7 separate regions of the Homo sapiens genome follow, and regions 1, 3, 4, 5, 6 and 7 are each linked to region 2. Evidence: promoter capture Hi-C in human tissues and cell types (Jung and others, 2019). All regions are on one chromosome and are shown on one strand. The core of a region is centred on a gene start or on the middle of the fragment in contact, and the rest is flanking DNA. Distances in the headings are between cores, read along the strand shown. Region 1 holds the start of ZNF721 (zinc finger protein 721). Region 2 holds the start of MYL5 (myosin light chain 5). Region 3 overlaps ZNF721 (zinc finger protein 721). Region 4 overlaps ZNF721 (zinc finger protein 721). Region 5 overlaps PIGG (phosphatidylinositol glycan anchor biosynthesis class G (EMM blood group)). Region 6 overlaps PIGG (phosphatidylinositol glycan anchor biosynthesis class G (EMM blood group)). Region 7 overlaps GAK (cyclin G associated kinase).

Region 1 (3,682 bases), core at 661-3,160, 180 kb before region 2:
CTCAGACCCCCCACCGAAAAACGTTGGAAGATCAGGGATCCCTGGAGGAACAAGGTCCCAGATTTCAGCAATCATCCTACCAGTTTGGGCAATAAGGTGCCAAGCCAATACCGAGGATCAATAGGCGAACTGCTGCAGGCCGGGTTACCTTCACTGAGGATCTCTCAGTGCTTATCAATGTCAATCGAGAAAAATGACAAGTCTTAATCATTTCAGGAGGCTTATTTCCCAAAGTTAAGGACGCCCATGACACAGCCTCCGGAGATCCTGACGACGTGGGTCCAAGGTGGTCGGGGCACAGCTTGGTTGTATTCATTTTAGGGAGTCACGAGATATCAATCATATGTATAATAACAGGCCGGACAGGGCGCGGTGTCTCACGCCTGTAATCCCAGCTCTTTGGGAGACAGAGGCGGGCGGATCACGAGGTCAGGAGATTGAGACCATCCTGGCTAACATGGTGAAACCCGTCACTACTAAAAAATACAAAAAAAAAAAAAAAATTTGACGGGCGTGGCGGCGGGCGCCTGTAGTCCCAGCTACACGGGAGGCTGCGGTAGGAAAATGGCGTGAACCCGGGAGGCGGAGCTTGCAGTGAGCGGAGATGGTGCCACTGCACTCCAGGCTGGGCGACAGAGCGAGACTCCGTCTCAAAAACAAACCAACAAAAAAAAAACAGGCCGGGCGCGGTGGCTCATGCCTGTAAATCCCAGCACTCTGGGAGGCCGAGGCGGGCGGATCACGAGGTCAGGAGTTCAAGAACAGCCTGACCAACATGGTGAAACCCCGTCTCAACTAAAAATACAAAAATTAGCCGTGCGTGGTGGCACGCACCTGTAATCCCAGCTACTCAGGAGGCTGAGGCAGGAGAATTGCTTGAACCCGGGAGGCAGAGGTTGCAGTGATCTGAGATCACGCCACTGCATTCCAGCCTGGGCGACAGAGTGAGATTTCATCTGAAAAGAAAAAGAAAAAAAAAAAAAAAAAAAAAAAAAGAAGGACATTGGTTCTGTCCAGAAAGGCGGGGGCAACTTGGAACAGGGAGGGGGCTTCCAGGTCACAGGTAGGTGACAGACAAATGGTTGCAGTTTCTGGGTTTCTGATAAGCCTCTCCAAAGGAGGCTATCAATATGCATTTATCTCAGTGAGCAGAGGAATGACTTTGAATAGAATGGGAGGCAGGTTTGTCCTGAGCAGTTCCGAGCTTGTCTTTTCCCTTAGTTTAGTAATTTTGGGGCCCCAAGATTTTCCTTTCAGAAAAAAGAAAATGTGGTATATATACACAATGGAGTACTATTCAGCTCTAATAAAAGAATGAAACCCTATCATTTGCCACAACACGGATAAACCTGAGGATATCATGTAAGCAAAATAAGACACAGAAAGACAAATACCTCATGATCTCACTCATGTGGCATCTTTAAAACGAAGTTAATCATTAAGATATTTACCAGTTGTCTGAGGTATTGGGTTGAATTTTCTTTTTTTTTTTTTTTTTGAGACGCAGTCTCGCTCTGTTGCCAGGCAGAAGTGCAGTGGCGCGATCTCGGCTCACTGCAACCTCCGCCTCCCAGGTTCAAGCGATTCTCCTGCCTCGGCCTCCCGAGTAGCTGGGACGACAGGCACCCGCCATCACGCCCCGCTAATTTTTTGTATTTTTAGTTGAGACGGGGTTTCACCATGTTGGCCAGGATAGTCTCGATCTCCTGACCTCGTGATCCGCCCGCCTCGGCCTCCCAAAGTACTGGGATTAAAGGCGTGAGCCACTGCACCCTGCCTTCCAAATTAAAAACTTTTTAAAACCTCGTACCTCGCCGTGGGCGGCGACCGTCGCGGACTCGCCGGGAAGACGGCCCCACGGAGCCGGGAACACCGCCCGCTGTTCGTATGTCCGAGGTGACGCCCCGCTGTGGCGGGCTGGCGGAAGTGACGCGCTGCTGTGGCGCGCCGGCGGACGTGACGCCACTGTCGCTGCGACGATAAGGCCTGGCGTTATTGCTTAGAGGCGGCTACCTGGAGCCGGAAGCGCGGCTGCAGCAGGGCGAGGCTCCAGGTGGGGTCGGTTCCGCATCCAGCCTAGCGTGTCCACGATGCGGCTGGGCTCCGGGACTTTCGCTACCTGTTGCGTAGCGATCGAGGTGCTAGGGATCGCGGTCTTCCTTCGGGGATTCTTCCCGGCTCCCGTTCGTTCCTCTGCCAGAGCGGAACACGGAGCGGAGCCCCCAGCGCCCGAACCCTCGGCTGGTACGGACCCCTCCCCGGCGTCTCCGCTCCCCTGACCCCACATCCCCTAGAAGACCTTTTTTCTGAGCCTCGCTGCTCGGATTTCTTCTCGGCGCTCCCCGGTGGTCTCTTCCATTATGGTCCCCACCTCAGAAATTTTTTTTAACCGCTCCAGCGTCTCTTTTCTGTATTCTTACAACTTTGTGGCAACCACCTCTACTGGCCCCACTTCGACCTTCCTTCCTGATCACCACAAAGTAAGCTGTGTCCATACCTGGGATCCAGCCTCTCCACTTCTACTCGTCCAGAGCTCCCGCCCCTTTCCTGAGCAGCCTTTGGGTCACTCCCCGTTATAGGCGCCCTTTTTGCCCCCTAGCACACAACAGATAAGACCCCTGCCGATCCCCTCGCGTTTTGGTCTCTTATATTCCTCCAAGATGTTTTCCCTGCCTAGGGGCTAAGGCCTCTCTGCGTTAGGCCTCTTCCTAGGCTTCACCTACCCAGCCATATACAGCAAGTAAAGGCGCCCTGGTTCTGGACCACTTGCACACATCGCCAGCCGCTGACCATGTAAACGCAGTATGTAAACGCCCAGCCATCCCGTAGCTGCAGCTCTGCGTTTTAGGTCAAGCTCCCTAAATGTCCCATTCCAGGACCCTTACGTAGGGATTCTCCTACCCCAGTACTCTTCACCATACTGAGGATAATTCACTGCTTGCTACTGTGGGTCCCTAAGATTACTCCTGTTAACCCCCGTCCTTTCCCCCCAGCACTACCTACCAAGTACAAGTCGCCTCCTTTTGGGTTGGGTTATGTAGATATCGCAGGGTATGTGCTGGAGAAGTAGGTAGAAGCTAGATTGTGAAGGTGCTTGATGCTAAGGAAAGTTTAGAGTTCAATTTCCTTTTTTTTCTTTCAAACACTTAGGAGCCAGTTCTAACTGGACCACGCTGCCACCACCTCTCTTCAGTAAAGTTGTTATTGTTCTGATAGATGCCTTGAGAGATGATTTTGTGTTTGGGTCAAAGGGTGTGAAATTTATGCCCTACACAACTTACCTTGTGGAAAAAGGAGCATCTCACAGTTTTGTGGCTGAAGCAAAGCCACCTACAGTTACTATGCCTCGAATCAAGGTAAGTTTGCCTTAATGTTTTATGAATCATGGTTTGGCTGTTTTGAAGATTTAGAGGGGGTCTCTGTAGTCTTTCGCTTGGAGTTGCAATTTTAAGAAAGTGGAAATTTTGTGCTGTCAGTTGGCTGGGGCAATAGAATGTTGAAGGAGCCTCACACGGGATGGAACTGAGACCCATCATTTGTGCCCCATGTCAAGTAGCCAAAGCTCATGCTTCATGGCAAATATAAAAGATTTAGAGCAAGATCATCCAGGCTAACCTACCCCAAGATATGCCATTCTTGGTGACCTGCTTTCTTCTTTAATCGTCACTGGGTCATTTACAAT
Region 2 (3,681 bases), core at 1,095-3,594:
AGCTGACTGACTCCATTACAGACGGCCTTTGGGGCTCCCCACCTGGATGCCCCAGACAGAACAGGCAGCGCGCATCTGTCCTTCCCACTGTGTTTACATGATGCATTCTGGGTCTGTGAATGGTAATGTGGATTCTTTTGAAACCCCCTCCCTGTCTTCCACCTCACGTGAACTGGGAGGTGGACAGAACTTCAACCTAGGAATTCCACAACCAGCGACAGCAAATGAGGAGCCGGAGTATCACACAACACAGGAAGCTTTATTCATCCGCTGCTGGTCCAAAGAGTGGGTCGCAGGGTCACTCACTTTAATATGCTGTCATCTTGGGCCGGAAGGTTAGAAGAAAAGCACATGTTACCACTCAGGCAACCTAAAAAGACCACTTCAGCTTCCCAGTTATTTTTTTTTTTTTTTTTTTTGTTTTGAGACGGAGTCTCGCTCTGTCACCCAATGGCGCAATCTCAGCTCACTGCAACCTCTGCATCCCAGGTTAAAGCGATTCTCCCACCTCAGCCTTCTGAGTAGCTGGGATTACATGCACCCGCCATCATGCCTGGCTAATTTTTTTTAGACAGAATTTCACTTTGCTGCTCAGGCTGGAGTGCAGTGGCGTGATCTCAGCTCACTGCAACCTCCGCCTCCCGGGTTCAAGCAATTCTCATGCCTCAGCTTTCTGAGTAGCTGGGATTACAGGTGCCTGCCACCATGCCCGGCTGATTTTTTGTATTTTAGTAGAAATGGGGTTTCACCATCTTGCCCAGGCTGGTCTCGAACTCCAGAGCTCAGGCAATCTGCCTGTCTCAGCCTCCCAAAGTGCTAGGATTACAGGCATGAGCCACCGCACCGGGCCATGCCCGGCTAATTTTTGTAGAGACAGGGTTGCACCATGTTGGTCAGGCTGGTCTTGAACTCCTAACCTCAGGTGATCTGCCCGCCTTGGCCTCCCAAAGTGCTGGGATACAGGCATGAGCCACCACGCCTGGCCAGCTTCCCCATTTTTAAACAATCCGCATCTACTTAGCTCTGCTTAAATGTCCTCCTCCATTTTCCTTATCCCTGCACAAACCTGGGAGGGACAATCTATAAGAGCCAGTGTCACTCGTACCTTCTGCCAATTCTCTGGCAATCCGTTTCAGTTCATCCTGCTTCTTCTTCTCTTCTGCTGCTATCCTCCTCTCCTCTTCTGCCCGAGGTTTTAGGTAATCTGTTTGGCGGAATGCAGGAGAATAAAATTCACTGGAAATGCTGTACAAAAGGAACTGAGTCCACAGGTCAAGGTATCTTCAGCGACGCTGTAAACCAGACGCACCTGCTGTTCCCGCTCTTTATGTTAATGCGAGTCAACGCCTGACCTTCACCCTGACGAGTCCAACCCAGAGGCTACAGGGCCCCTGCTGCCCACCCGCTCACGCACTGGCTCACTCGTCCTCTGCGAACAGGGACTGCCTCCCATCAAGACCTCAGCACTCGAACAGCCATTTAGCACCCGTTTTCACCAAGAAGCAGCCGTTTTCGAGTCCCCCGCCCGGGCCTCAGAAGCCTGAGCTTTGGGTGAGCTGATTCCACTATCGGGGTCACGCTCGGTGGAGGACACGGTCCTGCAGCCTCGCATGCGTCCCAAGCCCCCTTCCAGAGCTGGAGTTCTCCAAATAGCACAGGAGCTCCACAGGAAAGCCGAGCAGACCCCGCCCCGGCCCCGCCCGCGGTCACTCACTGTAGCGCGTGGCTCCGTAGGCCACACCGAGGAACAGGGCGGAGTAGCGGCCGAGCTGCGAAAGAGGTTGGTCAGAGGCGGCGCGAAACGGGGCTCGCGGGACGGGGGTCGCGGGAGGAGGGGGGGCGGGGTCGCTGGGCAGAGGTCGCAGGAGGGGTGGGGGTCCGGTCGCCGGGCGAGGGTCACGGGGCGAGGATCATGGGGGCGGGGGCCGGGGGTCGCAGCCCGCGGGGTCGGAGCTGCGGGGCGGGACACGGGGGGGCCCAGAGCACTGGGCGGCGGCTGCAAAGCCTGGATCACCTTGATGAGCGGAGAGACCTGCACCGGTGGCACCATCTTGTCCCTGACCTCCGCACCGGAAGCACAACCTGCAGACGGAGCAGGATGCCGCACAAGCCAGCAAAGCCTTGGAGGCAAAGGCGGAGCTGGGCGCACGCATGCGCCGTCAGCGGCGAGAGAGCGGGGGGCCGCGCCCCCTGGCGACCGAAGGGTGACTGCGCGCCCCCGCGCGGCGGTGACGTCACGTGAGGCGCACGCGCACAAAGGCTGGGGAGTGCGCGGAGGATCATCGGCTGCGCCTGCGCAGTTGCTGCGTGAGGCGGGATCTGCGCCGAGTGGGCGGGGGGTTTCCTTTCCCCGCAGGGCTGGGGGTCCGCTGTTTCCCCGCGCTGCTGCCGAGGCCCCGCCGTCCGCGTCCTGGCCGTGTGTCCACACCCCAGACTGCGGGCCGGGGCGCACTCTGTCTTCTTGCGCGGAGCGTCGGAGGCCTGAGGTCAGGGCGGCTCGGGCGGGTCCAGCCCCGCGGACCGCGCCCACCCGAGGGTGGCCTGGGCAGGGACCTGGGGGTCCTGGGAGCGGAGTGTGAGCCGAGTGCAGGTGGCTCCCCGGGCAGGTCCTTCTCCTACAAGGCAGTAGTGTCTGTCGCCGGCCGGGCCGCGTTGGATTCCGCGGCCCGCGGGAGCATGGCCTCCAGGCCCCTCTTCCTGCGGCTGCTCTGCCCGGGAGCACGGGGCGCCCTTCATCCCGGAGCTGGAGCTTCCTCACCCCAGGATGCCCCATCACTTCTGTCCCGAAGAGGGGCTGGGATCTTCTTGGGAAGACCAGCCCCCAACAGAGGCTGCTCCCTGGGTCCCCCGACTCCAGGCCTCAGGACTCCACGGCTCCAAGGGCCTGCCCCGGCCCAGGCCTGGGGACCACTGAGCCCCACACTGGTCTTTGCTGGCCTCTGTCCACCTCCCGGTAGCTGTGTGTCTCCCACAGCTGCCCAGAGATGGGGCCTGCGGTGCCTATGCAGCCTCCCCGCTGTGCCCGAAGTGCTGACCCGCCAGCCCCATGGACACCAGGCTTGGAGTCTAGGCAGGAGCCTGGCACCCCCTCCACGTTCTGGGTCTTCCTGGCGGCAGCCATGCTGCCCGTGCTGGGCCACCCTCGGGCCCCCTTTGGCCCCATGCAGTAGTGACGCAAGGCCTCCTGTGTCCCCTCCTGGCCCTGCACTGCTACAGGCAGAAGCAACTGGAGAACTATGGCTCGGGTCTCGCTAAGGTGCAGCATCACAAACTCCAGGACTCTTGAAGCAAGCATGGGGAGGACCCGTGATCCTGGCGGCCTGGGCTACCTGTCCGGGCCTAAGTCGCCTCTGCCCCCTCTCCTGGCTTGCTCTGGGGTCCAGGGCCTGGGCCTCTCTGGCTGAGAAACTAGGAAGTCACTGGGCTCTGTTTCCTGAGCTGGGTATACCAAGGCCAGTCCTATAGGGCAGGGGTCCCCAACCCCCAGGTGCAGACCAGTACCAGCTTGTGGCCCGTTAGGAACCGGGCAGCACAGGACGAGGTGAGGGAGCATGATTGCCCGAGCTCCACCCACTTTCAGATCAGCCTGGGCATCAGATTCCCATAGGAGCGTGAACCCTACTGTGAGCTGCGCACTTGGATCTGGATTGCGCTCTGGTGAGAATCTAATGCCTGATGAAC
Region 3 (3,722 bases), core at 715-3,214, 220 kb before region 2:
TAGAATTTGCAACCCCTACCACTAAAAAGGAGGCCCAGAAATTTATTGGCTTGTTTGGATTGTGGAGACATCATATGCCCCACATGGGTAACATTTTACAACCTCTGCGTGCAGTCACTAGAAAACGCTATGACTTTCACTGGGGACAGAAAGAGAGCGTGGCTTTTCAACAAGCTGAACAAGCGGTGCAACTGACCCCAGATCTATGGCCCATACGAAACAGGCCAGTAGAACTGCAAGTAGCTGTCCTAGATCAACATGCTAATTGGAGTCTTAGGCAGAAACAAGGTGGGAAGAGGGTACCTTTGGGGTTTTGGACCCAGAAACTGCCATAGGCTGGCAAAGCTTATACCCCTTCCAAGAAGCAATTGTTAGCTTTTTATTGGGTTTTGCTGGAAACAGAGGACCTCTGCTTCAACCATGAGGTCTTTATGAGGCCTGAAATTCCTATTATGACTTGGGTCATGAGTTTCCCCAATACTCACCAGATAGGGCACACTCAAGAAAGCAGCATTATAAAATGGAAATGGTATACACAAGATAGGGCTAAGCCAGGACCAAAGGGGATACTGCTTTTGCATAAGGATGTACAAAACTTGCCAGCTCAGAAAACCACTGAGCAAGCCCTTCAGTTAGGGAAGGAAACCTCCCCCATCCAATGGGACAAATCCTTTAAAAAACTAAGCCCAGAGGACCAGAAACATGCCTGGTTTACTAATGGACCACCAAATACACTGGTGGCACTCGACGCTAGAAGGCCGTGGCTTACAGTCCTGTTAGAAAACATAAGCATTTCTGATGAAGGAAAAGGTGGAAGCAGCTAGCTGGTTGAACCAGTAATGGTCCTCTGAGCTATTTAGGAGGAGGCCAGAGGGATTTGTCAGTTGTATACCAACTCTTGGTCAGTAGCAGATGGTCTTACTACCTGGTTGCCCCAATGGCAATGAAACAAATGGTTAATTGGGAATAAAGAGGTTTGGGGAAAAAAATACTGGGAAGATACCTGAATCCTGGCACACACCACCATTATCACTGTTCTCCATGTTGATGCTCATGCATCTCTGTTTTCTCTTGACAGACTATTTAATCAGCTGGCAGATCAACAGGCCAAAATTTCCACCACAACTGCAAACTTGAATGTGGATGAATGGATTACATGTTCAAGCCTGGTAATGAGAGGCATTATAATGGAATAACCTATCTACTAATGGTCAGCACATGTGTCTTTGTATCTGAGGCCAAGGATAAATTCATCAACTGGGTAGCCACCACTATAGAAGAAGCCAACCACAATCAATGTCGGCTATGCGTCCAGCTGCCAGAGGCCGCCAGGAATGAGCTACCTTGAAGAATCGTCCGTGACAACATTTCTGAATGGCTATGTCACTATCAATGGGGCCACAACAACAACACTTGCAATCCAACCTGAACTTCCTATGACCAAACCAAGCAATCTATTTATGCCCAAGTCAAGTGAAAGGTGAACTCCACCTTCACCATGCATCAAAAGCCTTGGTATCCTGCCCAATATGCCTGGAACGGTATATATTGGGAACCTGCTGTGCTGGTGGCCGGATTCCATATAGCTCCCCACCCACCCGCCACTTTGTCTGGAGGCCTTAAATGGCTCCTCTAATGTTCCTCTGGGTTTCTCCCACCAGACAACTGTCAACACATACTCCAAATCAACAGCATTGTCCCTAATGAAACACAATCTCTTTCCTACTTTAATAACACATTAGTACACTATGATTACAGTAACTATATTGCAGTCCCCTGGGGGGGCCCTCTGGATATGTGGATACTACGGGTGGTGATACCTGCCCCTACAATGGACAGAGAGATACACTTGGGGGTGGCCATTAATTCCATCCACCATACAAATGCGCTGGACTCCCTGGTGGTGATAGCCTACTACAGTATTCTCCCCTGCTGCTGGTACAATCCTGCTTCAGCAGCAAATTAAAATATTAAGTTTACATGTAGACAAAGCTCTTAATGATAGTAGCACTGGACTTATGTTGTTGTCAGAGGAATTTGCTCAGCTGTGTACTGTTGTGTTGCAAAACTGAATGGCATTAGATATGCTTACCGCAGCCCAAGGAGGGGTTTGAGCCTTACTGCATACTGAATGTTATGTGTATATCCCTGACAATTCTCACAATCACTCTCCTTGCAAAGCCATGGTGGGTGTGGTTTTTATTAACTCTGCTTTTAGTTCTCCTGTGCTTACCTGTATCTGTAATCTATATCAACTATGCCTTCCCCATGTATCTGTAAGGGTATTTTCCTACAATTGAGGATCAAACTGAGGCCGAATGTGGAGGAAAAGTTAAATATTAAATTTGAACTCAATTGAACATGGACACAAACAACGGTCACCAAATCCCGGAATGGGCTGTGTGAGCCCCTTGACACGTTCATCCAGTGCCGTTTTGGAGAAATCTCTATTTCAATCTATTCCTATATGTTAGTTATTGAAAACAATAGACAATTGCAAAAACAAGTTGATCTTTTTGTGTTCCTTGAGCTCAGGTGCAAAAGCCCCTCGTGACTGGGCCTCATGCCAAACAACTCATTACAAAAAGAGCTAGGGTCCCACACTGCGCCAAAGCTTCACGAGACCTCTCCTCATCTGTGCACGGATGAATGGTGGACTCTAGAGCCCAGGCTGTTTTGCTTCCCGGTCTGGTGGTGAATCCTCCATAGTCTGGTGAATGTAAATATATGTATCTCTTTTCCCTTCTCCCCTTCCCACTGCAATCTGCTTATTATATCATTTGCTTATATACCTACATTGCCATTTACATGGGATAAAGGTTGTTTACCCTTAAAGATATTGTGTGTGTGTCTTTCCTTCTCCTTTCACCCCGCAGCACACAACAATCTTACAAAAACAAAAGCCTGAGGCCAGTTGTCCTGGCTCACACCTGTAATCCTAGCACTTTGGGAGGCCGAGGCGGGCGGATCAGCTGAGGTCAAGCGATCGAGACCATCCTGGCCAACACGGTGAAACCCTGTCTCTACTAAAAATACAAAATTAGCTGGACATGGTAGTGCACACCTGTGGTCCCAGCTACTTGGGAGGCTGAGGCAGGAGAATCGTTTGAATCTGGGAGGCAGAGGTTGCAGTAAGCCGAGATCGTGCCACTGCGCTCTAGCCTGGCAACAGAGCAAGACTCCATCTCAAAACAACCAACCAACCAACCAAAAACCAAGCCTAAGAACATTATGTGAAGACAGTAAAAAAGAAAAAAAAAGAAAGAAAAAATATTACACCAATGACAATATAAAAATCAGTCAAAATTACAGAAACAGTAAGTAAAATGGTGTTCTTCAAGAGCTGAAGAAAAAGAAAAAAATGGCAGTTTATAGTTCATAGAGTATTAAACTTTACTTTTGTAAGACAAAATGTAGAGATCCATTTCAAAATAATGTAAATGTACTTAACCCCACTAGACTGTACACTTGAAAACCTTTAGGCAATTTTATGTTTTTCATCACAACTAAATATTTACATCTACCTAAAAAGGTTCCATTTTTCAAAAATCACCTTTGAATAACAAGTGTTTCTCTCACAAAACATAATCAAACAATAAATAGGTGGTAATATTCCACTGTTTCTTTGCCTACTCACCTACAAAAGAAAACAGTCATGATCACCAAAAAAATTTTTATTTATTTATTTATTTATTTATTTATTTATTTATTGAGATGGAGTC
Region 4 (3,984 bases), core at 489-2,988, 200 kb before region 2:
CCTCCCAAAGTGCTGGGATTACAGGCGTGAGCCACTGTGCCTGGCAAAAGTAGATCATTGTCTTATACCATACCCCAAAATTAACTCAAAATGAAACACTTACACGTAAGACAAAAACCTTAGAACTCCTGAACAAAACATATGGAAAAACCTTGATACTGGTCTTGGCAATAATTTTTTGATATGCCATCAAAAGCAAAGCAACAACAAAAAATACAAACAAGTGGGATTGTATCAAAGTAAACTGCTTCTTCACAGCAAAGAGAAACAAAATTTCTAAAAACTCTACAGGATAGAAATATTTGCAAGCGATATACCTGATAACAAGTTAATTTTGGGAGAACAAGGCGGGAGGATCACTTGAGGTCAGAAGATCGAGACCGGCCTGACCAACATAGAGAAACCCCATCTCTACTAAAAATACAAAATTAGCCAAGTCTAGTGGTGCATGCCTGTAATTCCCAGCTACTTGGGAGGCTGAGGCAGAAGAATCGCTTGAACCCAGGAGGCAGAGATTGCAGTGAGCCGAGATCATGCTACTGTACTCCAGCCCGGGCAACAAGAGCAAAACTGTGTCTCAAAAAATAAAATAAAATAAAATAGAAGGCTGGGCGCAGCAGCTCACACCTGTAATTCCAGCAATTTGGGAGGCCAAGAGATCGAGACCATCCTGGCCAACATGGTGAAACCCCACCTCTACTAAAAAATACAAAACTTAGCTGGGTGTGGTGGTGTGCACCAGGAATCACAGCTACTCGGGAGGCTAAGGCAGGAGAATTGCTTGAACCCAGGAGGCGGAGTTAGCAGTGAGCTGAGATCATGCCACTGCACTGTAGCCTGGTGACAGAGGAAGACTCTGTCTCAAAAAAAAAAAAAAAGAAGTTAATATCCATATCCAAAATGTTTAAGAAACTTCTGCAATTCAAAGCAAAACAATAATAATGATGATAACCCATTCAAAAATGGGCAAAAGGTTAGATTTTTTTTCCCAAAGACATACATACAAGGTATATGCTGTATGCTGTTAGTGAGATGTAAATTGATAAAATCATCATAAAAACCAGTAAAAAATAAAAATGGACATATCATATAATCCAGCAATACCACTTCTGGTCATACTACCAAAGGAAATTAAATTAACACCTTGAAGAAATATCTTCAGCCCCATGTTCATTGTAGTATTTTTACAATAGCCAAAATATAGAGTGTATATATACACAGTAGAATATTATTCAGCCATAAGAGAAAAGAAAATCTAGTCTTTTACAACATGGATAGACTTGGAGGACATGATGCTAAATGAAATTAGCCAAACACAGACAGACAAAGAAACTGCTTCTTTTTACATAGACGGGTAAATCTAAAAATGTAAACTCATAAAAGCAGAAAGTAGAATGGCGATTGTTAGTGCCTAAGGGTGGGAATATGAGATGTTCAAAGAGTATAAATTTTTAGTTATAAGTTGAATAAGTTGAATAAGGAGAAACCTAAGGAGAAACCTAATGCTAATGTACATTAGCATTAGATTAGCAAAACAGTATTCCATTTATAATTAATAATACTGTAATGTATGCTTACAATTTGCTAGGACACTAGGCCTTAAGTGTTCTTATTACCAAAAAAATCATGATCTATATGAGGTAATAGATATGTTGATCAACTTGATTATATTTTACTTTACAATAAAATATATGCATATATTACAAAATATATGCATATCAAATCATTACATTGTACACATTAAATATAGTTAAACAATTTTTATTTAACAGAAAAATCCATGTCACACAAACACAGATGAAGAGTAAGTCCTCACTTAATGTTCAAAACAGGTTCTTGAAAACTGCAACTTTATATGAAGCAATGTTGCTATATACCAAACATAACTCGTTTGTATCAATTAAACTTTGCTAAAATTATTATTTTTTGTTTTTTGGTTTTTTTGAGACGGAGTTTTGCTCTTGTCTCCCAGACAGGAGTTCAATGGCGCAATCTCGGCTCACTGCAACCTCTGCCTCCCAGGTTCAAGTGATTCTCCGCCTAAGCCTCCCAAGTAGCTGGATTACAGGCACCTGCCACCATGCCCAGCTAGTTTTTTGTATTTTTAGTAGAGACAGGGTTTTGCCATGTTGGCAAGGCTGGTCTCAAACTCCTGACCTCCTGATCTGCCCACCTCAGCCTCCCAAAGTGCTGGGATTACAGGCGTGAGCCACTGCACCCAGCCCTAAAATTCATTTTCCTAAATGATATGTTGCTTCACTTACAGTTTCTGAGAATCTATCAACAATGTTAAGAATTTACTATACACATATATAACTTACATAGCTGTGTGTGTGAGACACACATTTTTATATAGATATATCTCAAAAGACATTCTACAAAAATAGAAAATAAAACTCAGAGGGAGTATTAGGAATTATGCATTAAAGTTATCCTCACCTAGGGAGACCAGGTTTCTGTAGTTCTCCAACATCACATCTCTATACAAATTCTGCTGGGCAGGGTCCAGGCATTTCCACTCTTCTGGAGAGAATTCTATGGCCACATCCCTGAATGTTAAGGGTTCCTGAAAATACATATGTATCAAGTGACAGAGTTCTTAATTTGACTACAGGTGAAATGTGTTAAGAGAACCAGTTCTGACATGTGACTGACTGGGATTATCTGATAAAACAACTTTCAACACAGTAATGTTCTCTAAAGTATTCTATAGCTCTGCGGAAAAAGGAAGGCATTCCAACAGTTTCTGTTCCTGCAATAAAAATAATGGGCTACACTGACCTGCCCCTACCAAAACCAAGCAGAGTAGGCCCTGTGACCTCCTGGAAAACAGGTTGAACTCACCTCTCATGAAAATATCTGGAAGTCCTCATGCTTGACCTTGGCCTTGCTATAATATGCGAGGAACTTAATTTAAAAAACAGAAATGTTTCCACCCAGAACAATAGACAGGATGTGAGGGGAGGGCACAGGTGATGATTTCACTTCACTACGGGAAGACTGGGCTGAGAGTCACTTAGCTAAGCACTGTCTCTCAAGCTTCAATGCGCATATCAATTATTTGATGTTAAAGGCCTCACTGTACCAAAATTTTGCAGGTTTGAAAAGAGTCCATGAGTTAGCGTCTTTTATCAAGTCTCCTGTTAACGGTGATGCTCCTCCACCTGGACCCATTATAGTACTACTCGGCTAGAGAAAGCAGACACAGCACACAGAGTCCCTTACCCCAACACAAACGCTTTTCATCCCAAGACAAGACCACCAATCATCATCCTGATGCCACTCGGGAGCAGCCACGCGGAGGAGGCGCACAGGGCAAGGGGACTGGTGGGAAAGTTGGGGCGGGCTGGTGATTCGCTTCACTTCCTCACACACCTCACAAAAGTCTTTTTTTTCAAGACCCGCTGGCAGCCCCCAAGCCACGAGCCACAGCCGGCGCTGCCCCATTAATGAGTCCCCGTTTGCTCACATGAACTCTATGTTTTGATGGGGCCTCGATCTCATTCCGTAAAGTAGGGACAGGACCCCTGGACCACAGCTCCTCCTACGCGGTACCTGCGCACGCCGCACCTGGCGTCTTCCCGATGAGCTTCTCCTCACCCCACAGCCCGGGGAAGGTGCAGGGTTGCGGCGCAGAGCTGCACAAGGAGGGCTGCAGGCTGGGCCAGAGCAGCCTTGCGGGGACCCCGACAGGAGCGCGGGTCCCTCACCGGAGGGGACTGAGGACCGAGGGCTAAGCGGCGGCAGCGGGGACTCCGTTCGCAGACTCAGTCCCGCCGCCGCCATTTGCCGCCGGTTCTGATGAGGCCTCCCCAGCCTTGGGACGCCCTGCCCCGCACACTCACCATTTCTCAGCTTCAAGGGTGTCGCGAAGTCTTAGCTACGAATCATCCAATACCCGCAGGTTACAGAGCGATGGAGGCTGAGGCTCTGGCAAAATCACCGAGGCCTCCCTGAGGTGTGGAAGCAGGGAAGTGAGGCCCT
Region 5 (3,674 bases), core at 23-2,522, 140 kb before region 2:
CAGAAGCCGGCCTGAGGTGTCCGTGTAGGGCCAGGGTCGGGTCTGACGGGGCCTCGCCGGGCTCCCCAGGGTTGGGTCTGACGGGGCCTCGCTGGGCTGCCCAGGTCACACCAGCACATGGTTTCTAGACACAGGAAGGAAAATTCCTTTTCCCGCCACTCCAGGTTTTTCTGTTTGCTGGTGGCCAGATGGAGGGCGGGTCGTCCTTCCCCTTTGGGGACATGAAGATAAAAGACGGCTCTCGGCCCCCAGAGACCCTGCTGGAGCGCGCAGGACCCTGGAGAAGGCTCCTGGCCAGGGCCGTGGCTCTTCTGAGTCGTCCTTGAGTAGCTAGGGGCATGTCCCTTCCACACATAAGCTGATTTGGGTTGGAAAAACAGGGTGGGGGGCACAGGGAAGTTCAGAGACGTGAGCCCCGTCCCCTGTCGCTGAGAAGTCCCTTCAAGCTGCGTCTGGCCTGCCCTCCATGCTCTCCTGCCTGGTCCACCTCGTTCCCTCCAGTGAGCCTGAGGTCTCCTCTCCAACACCCACCCGTCTCCTGGCAGCTTCGTGCAGAAGTTCCACCGGGGGGACCCCAGATCAAGGGTGCAGTGCAGCCCCTCATCCACATCCCCATCTCCTGGCAGCTTTGTGCAGATGTCCCCGGGGGATCCCAGATCAAGGGTGCAGCCCCCCATCCACACACCCGTTTCCTGGCGGTTTTGTGCAGAAGTTCCCCCCGGGGGACCCCAGATCAAGGGCGCAGCCCCCCATCCACATGCCCGTCTCCTGGCGGTTTTGTGCAGAAGTTCTCCCGGGGAAACCCAGATCAAGGGTGCAGCTCCCCATCCACACGCCCGTCTTCTCTGCAGCGTTCCCACCGCCGCACACTCTCTGCTTCCTCATCGTATGTTTCTTGCTCCCCCAAGAAAGGAGGCTTTGTGAGGCAGGGGCTTCACCCGCTCTGTTCACCATAGCAGCCTCAGTGCCTGGCCTGGCGGAGTCAGGTGCTGAGTGGAGTGTGGCGGGGGTGGGTGATTCTGTACCTCCCAACTTGGTCTGGCAGAGACCCCAGGGCCTGCAAAGTTATTCGACTCACATGTGCCTGGTTTTCCCATCTGTAAAACGGGAGTTGCTGGGAGCTCAATGGGGGACACTTGGAAGCGTTCACAGCCTTTGGAGGGGCTAGTGGCCCCTGCGGCATCTACTAGAGTGCCCCGTGCTCCACGCTTGTCCCTGCTGCCAGCCACAGTCACGAATCCCCGCAGCGCCTATGCATTTCTGCGTGTGCTGAAACCGCGCACCGCGGCCCGGCCTCCTCCCGGGCAGGCGAGCGTCTGGGACACTGACTGGACCAGCCTCCCGCACTTTCTGGGTGGCTTTGGGCAGGTCAGCCAGAGCTTTGCGTGTGTCCTGTGGTGACCGGAGGCCCCAGTCCTGCCGGGAGCCCCAGGGAGCGCGCTGTGGCCTCTCCGCTGAGCAGTGAGGCTGGAGGGCTCCTACGTCCTCCCATGACTGAACCGTCGCTCTCGCGGTGCTGACTGCTGAGCCCCCGTGCCAGCCCTCCCAGGACACTTGGAGGCTTCTCCTGCCGAGCTGCCGGCGACTCCACAGAGCATCTGCACGTTTCTGTGGTCCCGCTCCGCCCTCTGGCTTCTGCTCCACAGCCTCCTTCACCAGGTCATCCTCTCAGCTCCACGCAGGTCCTCTCCCCGCCTCACTCCCCTCCCCAGACCAGCTCCTGAGACCCAGGCCACAGGGACCCTTGGCCTTGCCTCCAGACCCAGATGCCCAGCCCCCTGTCGACATTCCGCAGAGGTGTCCTCGGGCTGACAGGACTGAGGAGCCCTTTACAGGACATGCGGGCAGGGCCCACGCACCCAGGCACGCACACCCGTGCCTGCCTTTGAGCTTTTCCCACCCTGAAAGGAGCCCCTCGCCGCTCACGTCCTGTGTTGAGGCTCTCACAGCATGAGTGCTTCGGAGCCAGAGGAACCGTCCACCATGGTGGAAGTGTTCGTGCCCCGCAGACTCGGCGGGCCCGGGCTGGACCCCTCAGTCGCTCACAGGTTTCCGTAAGGGGTCGGGGGAGCATTGGCCTTGCTTCAGCAGTGATAGGCGCGTGCCTTCCCACAGCGGACATGGAGCCTTTCCAAGGGGAGAATCGCTCCCTGGCCAGACTGCAAGCTTCCCGGGGACAGGAATGCCTGAGATCCACCTGCCTTTTCTTCAGGTGCCTGTGGACGCTTGACACGCCCACTTTGGGGCAGTCTGTGGACAGACCCCCGTAATTTACAGTCACCGCTGAGCTTGTCATCACAGCAGAAAGCTGAGGCTCTGCGGGCGGAAGCCACCAACAGACCAGCTTGGGAGACACCCACTGTGGCGGCGCTGTGTGGAGACGTCCTTCCAGACTTCGATTCTGCATAAAAACAAACATCTGCCACGAGACCCCTGCTCGGCGTCCGCCTGTCTCAGCAGCTGCCCTGGGACGTCTTTCTCTGACTTGGTTTTGAGGCCAGCCGCGTGCTCACACTGGCCTTACAGAAACAGGAGACGCCGTCCTCGGCCGTCTGGGGTGGGCTGTCAGCACGTCGTGTGGTCAGGTGTCAGGACAAGCGGGCGTGAGCGCGTGGAGGTGCATCTGCCTCTGCCCTGGAGAACGGATGTGCTACAGCTGTGCGCGGCGTGATCAAGCACCTGTTGGGTGGACGGCACACCTCCCAGTGGCCAGCTGGAGACGGAGGGCTGGAAGTACTTGCCCGGCTCCTCTCTCTGTAGGTTTGGTCTTCGGCCTTGCAGCTGCCCTGGTGCTTGCAGATTGCGGTTTGATGGACCAGGCACTTTTCATCTCTTACACAGCCAGGCACGTTTGTGTTTGGGAGGGAAAAAGACAAATATTAAGTGAGGTGAAAGCATTTTGATCAACTGGAGAGTATCATGATATTTTTCCTAGTCAAGAAGCATTTCTCCTTCATTTTATAGGGTTTTCTTCTTCCCTTTTAAAAGTTTAAAGCATCAAGTTTTACTCATGGTTTCTATTTTGTTTCAGTAGAGTAGGAAAACTATAACCAGGTCTAAATTGTAGACAGAGAAAATATGTTTCCAAAAGGTCAAAAACGTGGCCTTGAGTGGTTGGCGACCCTCTGTTCCAGGGGCTGGCACCCCGGGCTGCCTGCTCCCCTGCAGCGCAAATGGCTCTTTGCTAAAGTGGTGGGAACAGCAAGCCGCCATCTTCTAGGTGGGTAACGCTATAAAGTGTTAAACTGAAGTCAAGGTGGTGCCATGTCTAAGCCACAGCTTCCCCATGCGCTGTCTGGGTAGGATGGGGCCACGGCCCACTTAGCCACGAATCTTCCTGCCCAGTATGTTCACCTTTTCCTGGGTGTTGCTGTCACCAGGAGGTGTATTGAGGATACCTTGGGGTCCACCTCCCTGTGGGGTCCCCGGCCTGTGGGGCTGGATACCAAGTGGTGACCAGCGGTACGGGTTTGGGGGACCCGCCTAAGGAGCCAGGGCCTGGCAAGGAAAGCAGTGAAAGGACCAGAGGCACCGGCCACCCACCGGGAGATCCCAGGGTCTGAGTATTTTACTGGAGCACATGGCGGGCTGAGGTGAAGGAGTGTTTGGAGAAGCCAAGAGGAGGATGGGCCCCTCCAAGGCCTGAGATGGGGAGCCGGTGGGGGGCTGAGGTG
Region 6 (4,074 bases), core at 1-2,500, 160 kb before region 2:
GTGTTTCTGTTTTCTTAGAACTTTGAACTATCACCATTGGCAGCACCCTCAGATGCAGTTATCTAAAGTTCTTTCATAAATTTATTCATTCAACAACTATTTACCAGGATCTTGTTATGAATGAGAGGCTGTTAACAGGCACTGGAGACAGAGCAGGTACGAGGCTCTGCCCTCATGGAACCTTCCAGAGGGAGGAGAGAAAAGGAAGTGATCGATGGCCGATGGTGACGAGTACCTTAGGAAAAGAATAAACAGGGCTGGGTGCGGTGGCTCACGCCTGTAATCCCAGCACTTTGGGAGGCCAAGGCAGGCGGATCATGAAGTCAGGAATTGAAGACCAGCCTGACTAACACAGTGAAACCCCGTCTCTACTAAAAATACAAAAATTAGCCAGGCATGGTGGCGGGCACCTGTAATCCCAGCTACTCAGGAGGCTGAGGCAGGAGAATCGCTTGAACCCTGGAGGTGGAGGTTGCAGTGAACTGAGATCGCGCTACTGCACTCCAGCCTGGCAACAGAGCAAGACTCTGCCTCAAAAAAAAAAAAAAAAAAAAAAAAGAAGGAATAAACAGGCGTGGGGTGGGAAGTGAAGCGGGTGGGGGAGCCACTGGGGCAGGCTGGCCGCTGGCCATCTGGGAGGGCACATTACAGGCTGTGGGGGCAGCAGACAGGGTCCTCCATGGGGCGCACATTCAGGGGATGGTCAGAGCAGGGGCCAGAGTGGCAAGGGCAGGGCAGAGGAGATGGCATTAAGGGGTGAGGGCCACTGGGCGCTGGAAGGGCTTTCACTTGTATTCTGAGTTAAATGGGGAGCTGCTGCAGGGTTTGGTGAGAGCCAGAGTCTCCCACTTGCATTTTCGAAGGCTGTCTCAGGCGCCCTCGTGGAGGATTCTGCTTTGTGCTGTAGGAGGAGACCAGTCAGGAGGCAGTGGCTGTACTTCTGTGAGAGGTGAGGGTGGCCAGGGCCCAGGCAAGGGTGGTGAAGAAGTGGTTGCATTCTGGAAAGATTCTGAAGGTCATGAAGACAGGATTTGCTCACGTGCTGCGATATTGGGTACGAGCAGACCAGAGGCGTTAGGTACGACTCCGGGGCTTTCAGCTGAAAGCAAAGAGAGTAATAATTTCCTCAGGAGGGCACGACTTAGGAGGAACAGTTCTGCAAGGCAGGTGCTTGTGGGTGGGGGTGTTGGTGTCCAGGAAGCCATGTAAAGAAGTAATTTCAGGAAGCATGGAGTGGGCAGCTGCGTCAAAGGTTGGTATTGAATAAAATCAGGAATTGAGAACTGAGCTTTGGATCTGGCCATGGAGGGTGATGAGTGGCTTCGTCAGATGGAGAGTGGGGGAAGGCCTGGCTGGTACTAGGCAGGCGAGAGCCCTAGGCAGCAGACACTGCGACTCTAATGGGAGTAGGAGGTGGAGTTGCCTGAGGCAGGTGTGGGGCCAAGGGAGGTGCCAGGAGACAGCTACAGGAAGGGTCCAGGAGAGGAACGTTTGTCTCCCTGGGATGTCTTCAGACAATCGACTCTGACGCAGCCGCGTTCATCAAGAATCATGTTTGATACTGGGACTCCTTTGAGAGCCCGGAGGAAGTCGACTCCTATTTGGGGGCAGCAGTTAATGTGGTGTTGGCAGATTTCCCTACTTGAAGTAGAGGGATACTATTACTACCAAATAGAGTGAACGTCCACAAGCTTGCGCTGAGATGTAAACCGGCCTCCTAGAGTCACGTGTGGAAGACAAACCTGGCCAGCCAAGGAGTGCTTGGGAACCGGATGTGATGAGTGTCTGGAGGCCCCACCGAGCACCAGCTCTCACCCTGTGAGGTGGAGGACTTTGGCCATGGAGCCATTTTAGTCAAGACCAGGGACAACAGTGACTTGTGCTTTTCGTTTTTTAAAAAATAGTATGAGTTTGGTAGCTTTTGCATATTGCTTGTTTTGTTACTGTGTCCTTTTTTCTACGCTAAGAGTGATAAAAACACCAACAAAATTGGCCAGGTGTGGTGGCTCACGCCTGTCATCCCAGCACTTTGGGAGGCTGAGGCGGGGGGATCACAAGGTCAGGAGATCAAGACCGTCCTGGCTAACACAGTGAAACCCCATCTCTACTAAAAATACAAAAAATTAGTTGGGCATGGTGGCAGGCGCCTGTAGGCCCAGCTACTCGGGAGGCTGAGGCAGGAGAATGGTGTGAACCCGGGAGGCGGAGCTTGCAGTGAGCCGAGATGGCGACACTGCACTCCAGCCTGGGTGACAGAGCGAGACTCCATCTCAAAAAACAAAACAAAAAAGATACCAACAAAATCAAAACAACAATGGAAGGGTTATTTGCCTGTTCCAGAAGTAGTGGCTGGGGGAAGATGGGAACCACAGTGGATATGAGAGGAAACCAGCCTGTTAAAGGAATGCAGGAGCCTCCCTTGACTGAAAACACAGCCACAGCGTCTGGAACCCCCCCTGGCGGCCCATTGTCTACACCGTCGGGGATCCTTTTTCCTAAAACAAAATGGGGTATGTGTTCTGACACTGAAATACGTTTTAGAACCCACAGCCAGGCCCGTGCAGTCCCTCGGTGGCGTCCAGTCTGTTGGAGGCTTTGTGCCCACCCGGCTCTCTCAGTGTAGTGGGACCGGCTTTTTCTCACCTCTGGACTTTTGCACATGCTGTTCCCATCAGCTTGATGCTCTTCCTGCAGTTTTTTGCCTGGCGAATTCCTGGGTACCGTTTACATTTCAGCGTAAACATCAGACCTTCCTGGTCCAGCGCCCACTCCCAATCCAAAATCAGTTCCTCCCCATTACCAAAAATCCCTCATTGATACCCTCTACTTTTCCTTCCTGGGAAACTTGTAATTACAGCTGTAATGCAGTCACAGTTTGTAATTACGCTTGTGTGCGTGCGTGCGTGTCTGTGAGCCCTACTGGATCCAAGCCCCAGCAGGCAAGGATTGCACCTGCTTGCTCGCCATGCTGTGTCTCCCCTGGCACAGCGCCTGGCACAGTGCCTGGCACGTCGTCCACGCTCCATGGATATTTGTTTCGATGCATGCACAGGTGCACCCCCATAGCTTTGTGACTCTCTGATAGGCGGTGGGGTGTGGACACAGGCGTCCCCCCATCCAGGGTGGTAGGTGTAGCAATGAAGGATGCCAGCCCTGGAACCAGACTGCCTGAGTTTCATTTGCAGCTTTTACCCACTGGCACTGTGGCCCAGGTGCGTGACTCACCCTCTGTGTCTCAGTTGCCTCCTCTGGATAACAGTTCTGATGCTCATCCCTGCCTCATAGGGTCATTAGGGAGGTGAAACGAGCGAGCCGCCTAGTGTTGCTGGCTACTGGCACTTAGTGCAGAGCACCTGGTGCCGGCAGCAGTGGGGTGGGCCTGCAGGCGTGTGGGTTCATGCTTAGGGACTTGGTGCCTGCAGCAGTGGGGTGGGCCTGCAGGCGTGTGGGTTCACGCTCAGGGACCTGGTGCCGGCAGCAGTGGGGTGGGCCTGCAGGCGTGTGGGTTCATGCTTAGGGACTTGGTGCCTGCAGCAGTGGGGTGGGCCTGCAGGCGTGTGGGTTCACGCTCAGGGACCTGGTGCCGGCAGCAGTGGGGTGGGCCTGCAGGCGTGTGGGTTCATGCTTAGGGACTTGGTGCCTGCAGCAGTCGGGTGTGCTTGCAGGCGTGTGGGTTCACGCTCAGGGACCTGGTGCCGGCAGCAGTGGGGCGGGCCTGCAGGCGTATGAGTTCATGCTCAGGGACTTGTGCCACAGCACCCTGGACCTCAGTGGCTTGAGCGCCTGTGGCAGCTCTTTCACTGCTGTGATAGCAGGCCTGGGGCATGCAGAGCCACAGGGTGGGGCGAGCCTGCCAAGAGGCACAGCTGAGACCCTTCTTGGCATGGCTCTTCTGGAGTAGGAAGCTCATGTCAAATACCGAGGGGGTCTCAGGAAGGAAGTTGTTGCTTTGCAGACCAGTCTAATCACAAGTGAGTGTGGTCCCGGCAGAGGCTCACGCATCAGCCAGCTCGGGAAAGAAAGAACATCAGCTGTGCCGTGAGCAGCATGGCACTGTGGTTTAAAAGAGGTTGC
Region 7 (3,825 bases), core at 1,046-3,545, 240 kb after region 2:
ACATAGCCCCAGCGTACACGGCCCCCCGCACTCAGCCCTAGCGTGCACGGCCCCACACACACAGCCCCAGCGTGCACAGCCCCACCCCCAACACACAGAGCCCCAGCATACACGGCCCCCCGCACTCAGCCCCAGCGTGCAAGGCCCCACACACAGCCCCAGCATACACGGCCCCCAACACACACAGCCCCAGTGTGCACGGCCCCATACACACACAGCCCCAACGTACACGGCCCCCAACACAGATAGCTCCAGCATGCACGGCCCCACACACACACACAGCCCCAGCGTGCACGGCCCCACACACACACAGCCCCAGCATATACGGCCCCCAACACACACAGCCCCAGCGTACACGGCCCCACACACACACAGGTCCAGCGTACACGGCCCCCAACACACACAGCCCCAGCGCACACGGCCCCCAACACACACAGCCCCAGCGCACACGGCCAACACACACAGTCCCAGCGTGCACGGCCCCACACACACAGCCCCAGCGTACACGGCCCCCCGCACTCAGCCCCAGCGTGCACGGCCCCACACACACAGCCCCAGTATACACGGCCCCACACACACAGCCCCAGCATACACGGCCCCGTGCACTCAGCCCCAGCGTACATGGCCCCCCGCACTCAGCCCCAGCGTGCGCGGCCCCAGTGCATACACCACTGCCTTTCACTTCCTCTACTCCAGAGACAGACAGGAATAACCTAAGAACAGAGGTCAATAGAAGGAAAAACAAAACCACAAGCAGTTCTCCAAAGACCAACGAGACTGATAAATTCTAGACAGACTGATCCAGAGAGAGAGGACAGATCACCAATACCCAGAACAAGAGAGGGGACCTCCTTCCCCGACGCCCAAAAGAGGAAAAGACATAAAAGAGAATACACACCAACATCACTCACGAATGTGGACCCAAGAATTCTTCATAAAACAGCAAACCAAGCCCACCAAGACATCAGGAGCAGAGTTGGTTTAACATTTGAAAATCAATTTAATTCTATTGTTTTGGGGTCTAATTTGCTTAGTTTTCTTTTAGGTTTCTGCAGTGGAAAAACTACATCATGAAATTTAAAACTCTCAGCAAACGAGGACAGAAAGAAACCTCCCCAGCCTGATAGACGGCATCTGTGAGAGACCAACAGGAACACTGCATTTCGTGGTGCAATGTCGAATCCTCCCTTCTGAGATCAGGAAGGAGGCGGGGATCCTTGTTCTCACCACTGATGGTCGACACTGTGAGGAAGTTCTCGCCGGTGCCATCAGTCAAGAAAAAGAAATAAAAGGCATCCAGATGAAAAAAGGAGTAAAATTATTTTTATCTGCAGGTGACATGATTATCTATGCAGAAAATCTGGTGAAATCTACTAAAGAAAAGCTACCATAACAAACGCATTCAGGATGGTTGTTGGATATAAGGGCAACATACAAAAACCAACTGTGCTTCCACATGCCCAAGGTTAGGCAGTGATTTTTTAGATATAAGCACAAAAGCAGGACCCATAAAAGAAAAATAATGATAAATGGACTTCAGGAATTTCTGCTTTTTGAAAACTGGTCAGAGGATGAAAAGATAAATCACTACTAAGTTTTGCAAATCATATACCTAATAAAGGACTTCTATCGAGAAAATATTTTAAAAATCCAAGTAACAACAATTTTTTTTTCTTCTGAGACAGGGTCCTACTCTGTCACCAGGATGGAGTGCAGTGGCACTATCACAACCCACTGCCTCGACATCTGGGCTCAAGTGATCCTCCCACCTCAGCTTCCCAAGAAGCTGGGACTACAGGCATGCGTCACCACACCCGGCTAATTTTTTTATTCTTTGAAGAGACGAGGTTTCGCCAAGTTGCCCAGGCGGGTCTAGCCTCCCAAAGTGCTGGGACTACAGGTGTGAGCCACCACGCCCAGAAAACAACAAAATTTTTAATGTGCAAAAGATATGAATAGACACATCACCAAAGATATACTTGTGACAAGTACACAACGTGTCCCACCACTGCCCATTAGAGAAATGCAGACTTAAACCGCGAAGATAGGACCCCATACCTAGCAGAATACTTGACATTTAAAAACCGCCCAGACCAAGTGTCGCTGAGGATGTGGAGCGACTGGAATGCTTATGCACAGCTTTTGGAAATGGAAAATGGTACAATCACTCTGGAAAACATGTTGGCGATTTCTTAAAAAGGTGAACATAAATCAACAATACAGCCCTGACATTACGCTGCTGTGTATTTACCCAAGAAAAATGAAGGCACATGTGCGTAAAGAGACTTCTACACAGCAGCTTCATGTGCAATAGCCTAAAAATGGAAGCAACCCAAATGTCCATCAACAGGTGAATGAACAAATTACCCACACCTCTAACACTACCTAGCAATAAAAAGGAGGAAACTGCTGTTACATGCAACAACATGAATAACACACGAAAAGGCAGTATGCCGAGTAAAAGATGCCAGGCGAAAAAAGAGTACATACACATACATACAGTCAATGTACAGAAAACTCCAGAAAACACAAACGACCAGGCCAAAAAAAGAGAGTACATACACACATACAGTCAGTGTACAGAAAACTCCAGAAAACGCAAATGGATCTATGGTAACAGAAGGCCAATGCCAGGCCAAAAAAAGAGAGTACATACACACACATACAGTTAGTGTACAGAAAACTCTAGAAAATGCAAATGAATCTATAGTAACAGAAGGCCAATGCCAGGCCAAAAAAAGAGAGTACATACACACACATACAGTCAGTGTACAGAAAACTCCAGAAAACACAAATGGATCTATAGTAACAGAAGGCCAATGCCATGCCAAAAAAAGAGAGTACATATACACATACAGTCAGTGTACAGAAAACTCTAGAAAACACAAATGGATCTATAGTAACAGAAGGCCAATGCCAGGCCAAAAAAAGAGAGTACATATACACATACAGTTAGTGTACAGAAAACTCTAGAAAATGCAAATGAATCTATAGTAACAGAAGGCCAATCAGTGGTTTCCTGGGATGGGAACAGGAAAGCAGGGCGAAGGGTTACCGTGGGGAGGAGGGAGACCGTGGCGCTGACGCACATGTTTGCTGCCTTGATTAGCGTGGCAGATACAGTGTGTGACACACACATACATACATGACATGTGCCGAAACATTTAAAACATGCAGCCTGTATATCTCATTTTTATCTCAACTGTTAAAATATTTAAATAATAAATAAATCTGTGAGGAAAAACACAGATGAAAGGAAGTAAATGGAAATCCATGAAATAGAAAATAGAAAACAGATGGCTCCACTGCTAAATTACATCAAACACTTAAGGAAGAAATCACAACAAGCTTATAAAGTCTTTCATTAGATAGAGGAGAAGGGTTCCCAGCTCATTGCTTGAAGTTAGCATAACACTAACCAAAGAAGGGTATAAATACCAAATTAAGGAAAGAGATCACTCATTACCATAGACACAAAAAATCCTCAAGAAAATACTGGCAAATTGATTCCAGCAAAACATAATAAGGATACTACATCATGACCAGGTGGTATTCATCCCAGGAATGCAAGGTTGGTGTAACATTAAAAAATCAATCACTGTAGTAAACAACATTAGCAGAATAGGGAACACTGGATCACCAACAAAATTTAGAAACAACAACTACAAAAAACTGACTTCTAACATAAGACTTAATCGTGTTTTCTTCCTAAGATCAGAAACAAGGCAAGATGTCTGCTCTCAGCACTGTAAGCCAACATTTTACTGGAGATTCGAGTTAATGCAAGAAAGCTAGGAAAATTAATAAAAGGCATAAAGATCAAAA

What was found. The method cuts DNA at HindIII sites, captures the fragments that hold promoters and counts their contacts. A contact is called where the count stands out against the background at its distance.
Region 1: a contact is called between the fragment with the promoter of ZNF721 here and the fragment with the promoter of MYL5 in region 2, in 7 of the 25 tissues and cell types used here (IMR-90 fibroblasts, dorsolateral prefrontal cortex, heart left ventricle and 4 more).
Region 3: a fragment that was not itself captured here is called in contact with the fragment with the promoter of MYL5 in region 2 in 2 of the 25 tissues and cell types used here (dorsolateral prefrontal cortex and lymphoblastoid cells).
Region 4: a fragment that was not itself captured here is called in contact with the fragment with the promoter of MYL5 in region 2 in 2 of the 25 tissues and cell types used here (dorsolateral prefrontal cortex and lymphoblastoid cells).
Region 5: a fragment that was not itself captured here is called in contact with the fragment with the promoter of MYL5 in region 2 in 1 of the 25 tissues and cell types used here (H1 embryonic stem cells).
Region 6: a fragment that was not itself captured here is called in contact with the fragment with the promoter of MYL5 in region 2 in 2 of the 25 tissues and cell types used here (lymphoblastoid cells and mesenchymal stem cells).
Region 7: a contact is called between a fragment that was not itself captured here and the fragment with the promoter of MYL5 in region 2, in 1 of the 25 tissues and cell types used here (lymphoblastoid cells).

The regions. Positions count from the first base shown.
Region 1 is chr4:497,246-500,927 of GRCh38, forward strand. ZNF721 (zinc finger protein 721) reads right to left here and starts at 1,911. Exons shown (of 3, transcript NM_133474.4): 1 at 1,811-1,911. PIGG (phosphatidylinositol glycan anchor biosynthesis class G (EMM blood group)) reads left to right here and starts at 1,965. Exons shown (of 13, transcript NM_001127178.3): 1 at 1,965-2,244; 2 at 3,151-3,356. The coding sequence starts at 2,091. RefSeq lists enhancers at 1,197-2,062, 1,626-2,105, 2,063-2,926. The HindIII fragment of the contact is 23,753 bases long and covers 1-3,682 here.
Region 2 is chr4:672,198-675,878 of GRCh38, forward strand. It overlaps MYL5 (myosin light chain 5), which reads left to right and starts at 2,345. Exons shown (of 9, transcript NM_002477.2): 1 at 2,345-2,486. ATP5ME (ATP synthase membrane subunit e) reads right to left here and starts at 2,079. Exons shown (of 4, transcript NM_007100.4): 1 at 2,015-2,079; 2 at 1,715-1,769; 3 at 1,106-1,204; 4 at 239-322. The coding sequence starts at 2,050. The coding sequence ends at 303. RefSeq lists enhancers at 2,211-2,968, 2,846-2,915 and a silencer at 2,366-2,635. The HindIII fragment of the contact is 2,744 bases long and covers 1-2,618 here.
Region 3 is chr4:452,378-456,099 of GRCh38, forward strand. All of the region lies in intron 2 of ZNF721 (zinc finger protein 721), which reads right to left. It also overlaps the pseudogene ABCA11P. Among named protein-coding and RNA genes, the nearest start is that of ZNF721, 45 kb to the right of the region's middle. The HindIII fragment of the contact is 4,490 bases long and covers 1-3,722 here.
Region 4 is chr4:470,136-474,119 of GRCh38, forward strand. It overlaps ZNF721 (zinc finger protein 721), which reads right to left. Exons shown (of 3, transcript NM_133474.4): 2 at 2,440-2,566. The coding sequence starts at 2,473. It also overlaps the pseudogene ABCA11P. Among named protein-coding and RNA genes, the nearest start is that of ZNF721, 27 kb to the right of the region's middle. RefSeq lists an enhancer at 3,764-3,984. The HindIII fragment of the contact is 4,057 bases long and covers 1-3,767 here.
Region 5 is chr4:534,144-537,817 of GRCh38, forward strand. All of the region lies in intron 12 of PIGG (phosphatidylinositol glycan anchor biosynthesis class G (EMM blood group)), which reads left to right. Among named protein-coding and RNA genes, the nearest start is that of PIGG, 37 kb to the left of the region's middle. The HindIII fragment of the contact is 5,050 bases long and covers 1-3,674 here.
Region 6 is chr4:516,321-520,394 of GRCh38, forward strand. All of the region lies in intron 6 of PIGG (phosphatidylinositol glycan anchor biosynthesis class G (EMM blood group)), which reads left to right. Among named protein-coding and RNA genes, the nearest start is that of PIGG, 19 kb to the left of the region's middle. The HindIII fragment of the contact is 7,094 bases long and covers 1-4,074 here.
Region 7 is chr4:914,600-918,424 of GRCh38, forward strand. The region is part of intron 1 of GAK (cyclin G associated kinase); the gene reads right to left. Among named protein-coding and RNA genes, the nearest start is that of GAK, 16 kb to the right of the region's middle. RefSeq lists a silencer at 529-708. The HindIII fragment of the contact is 4,061 bases long and covers 266-3,825 here.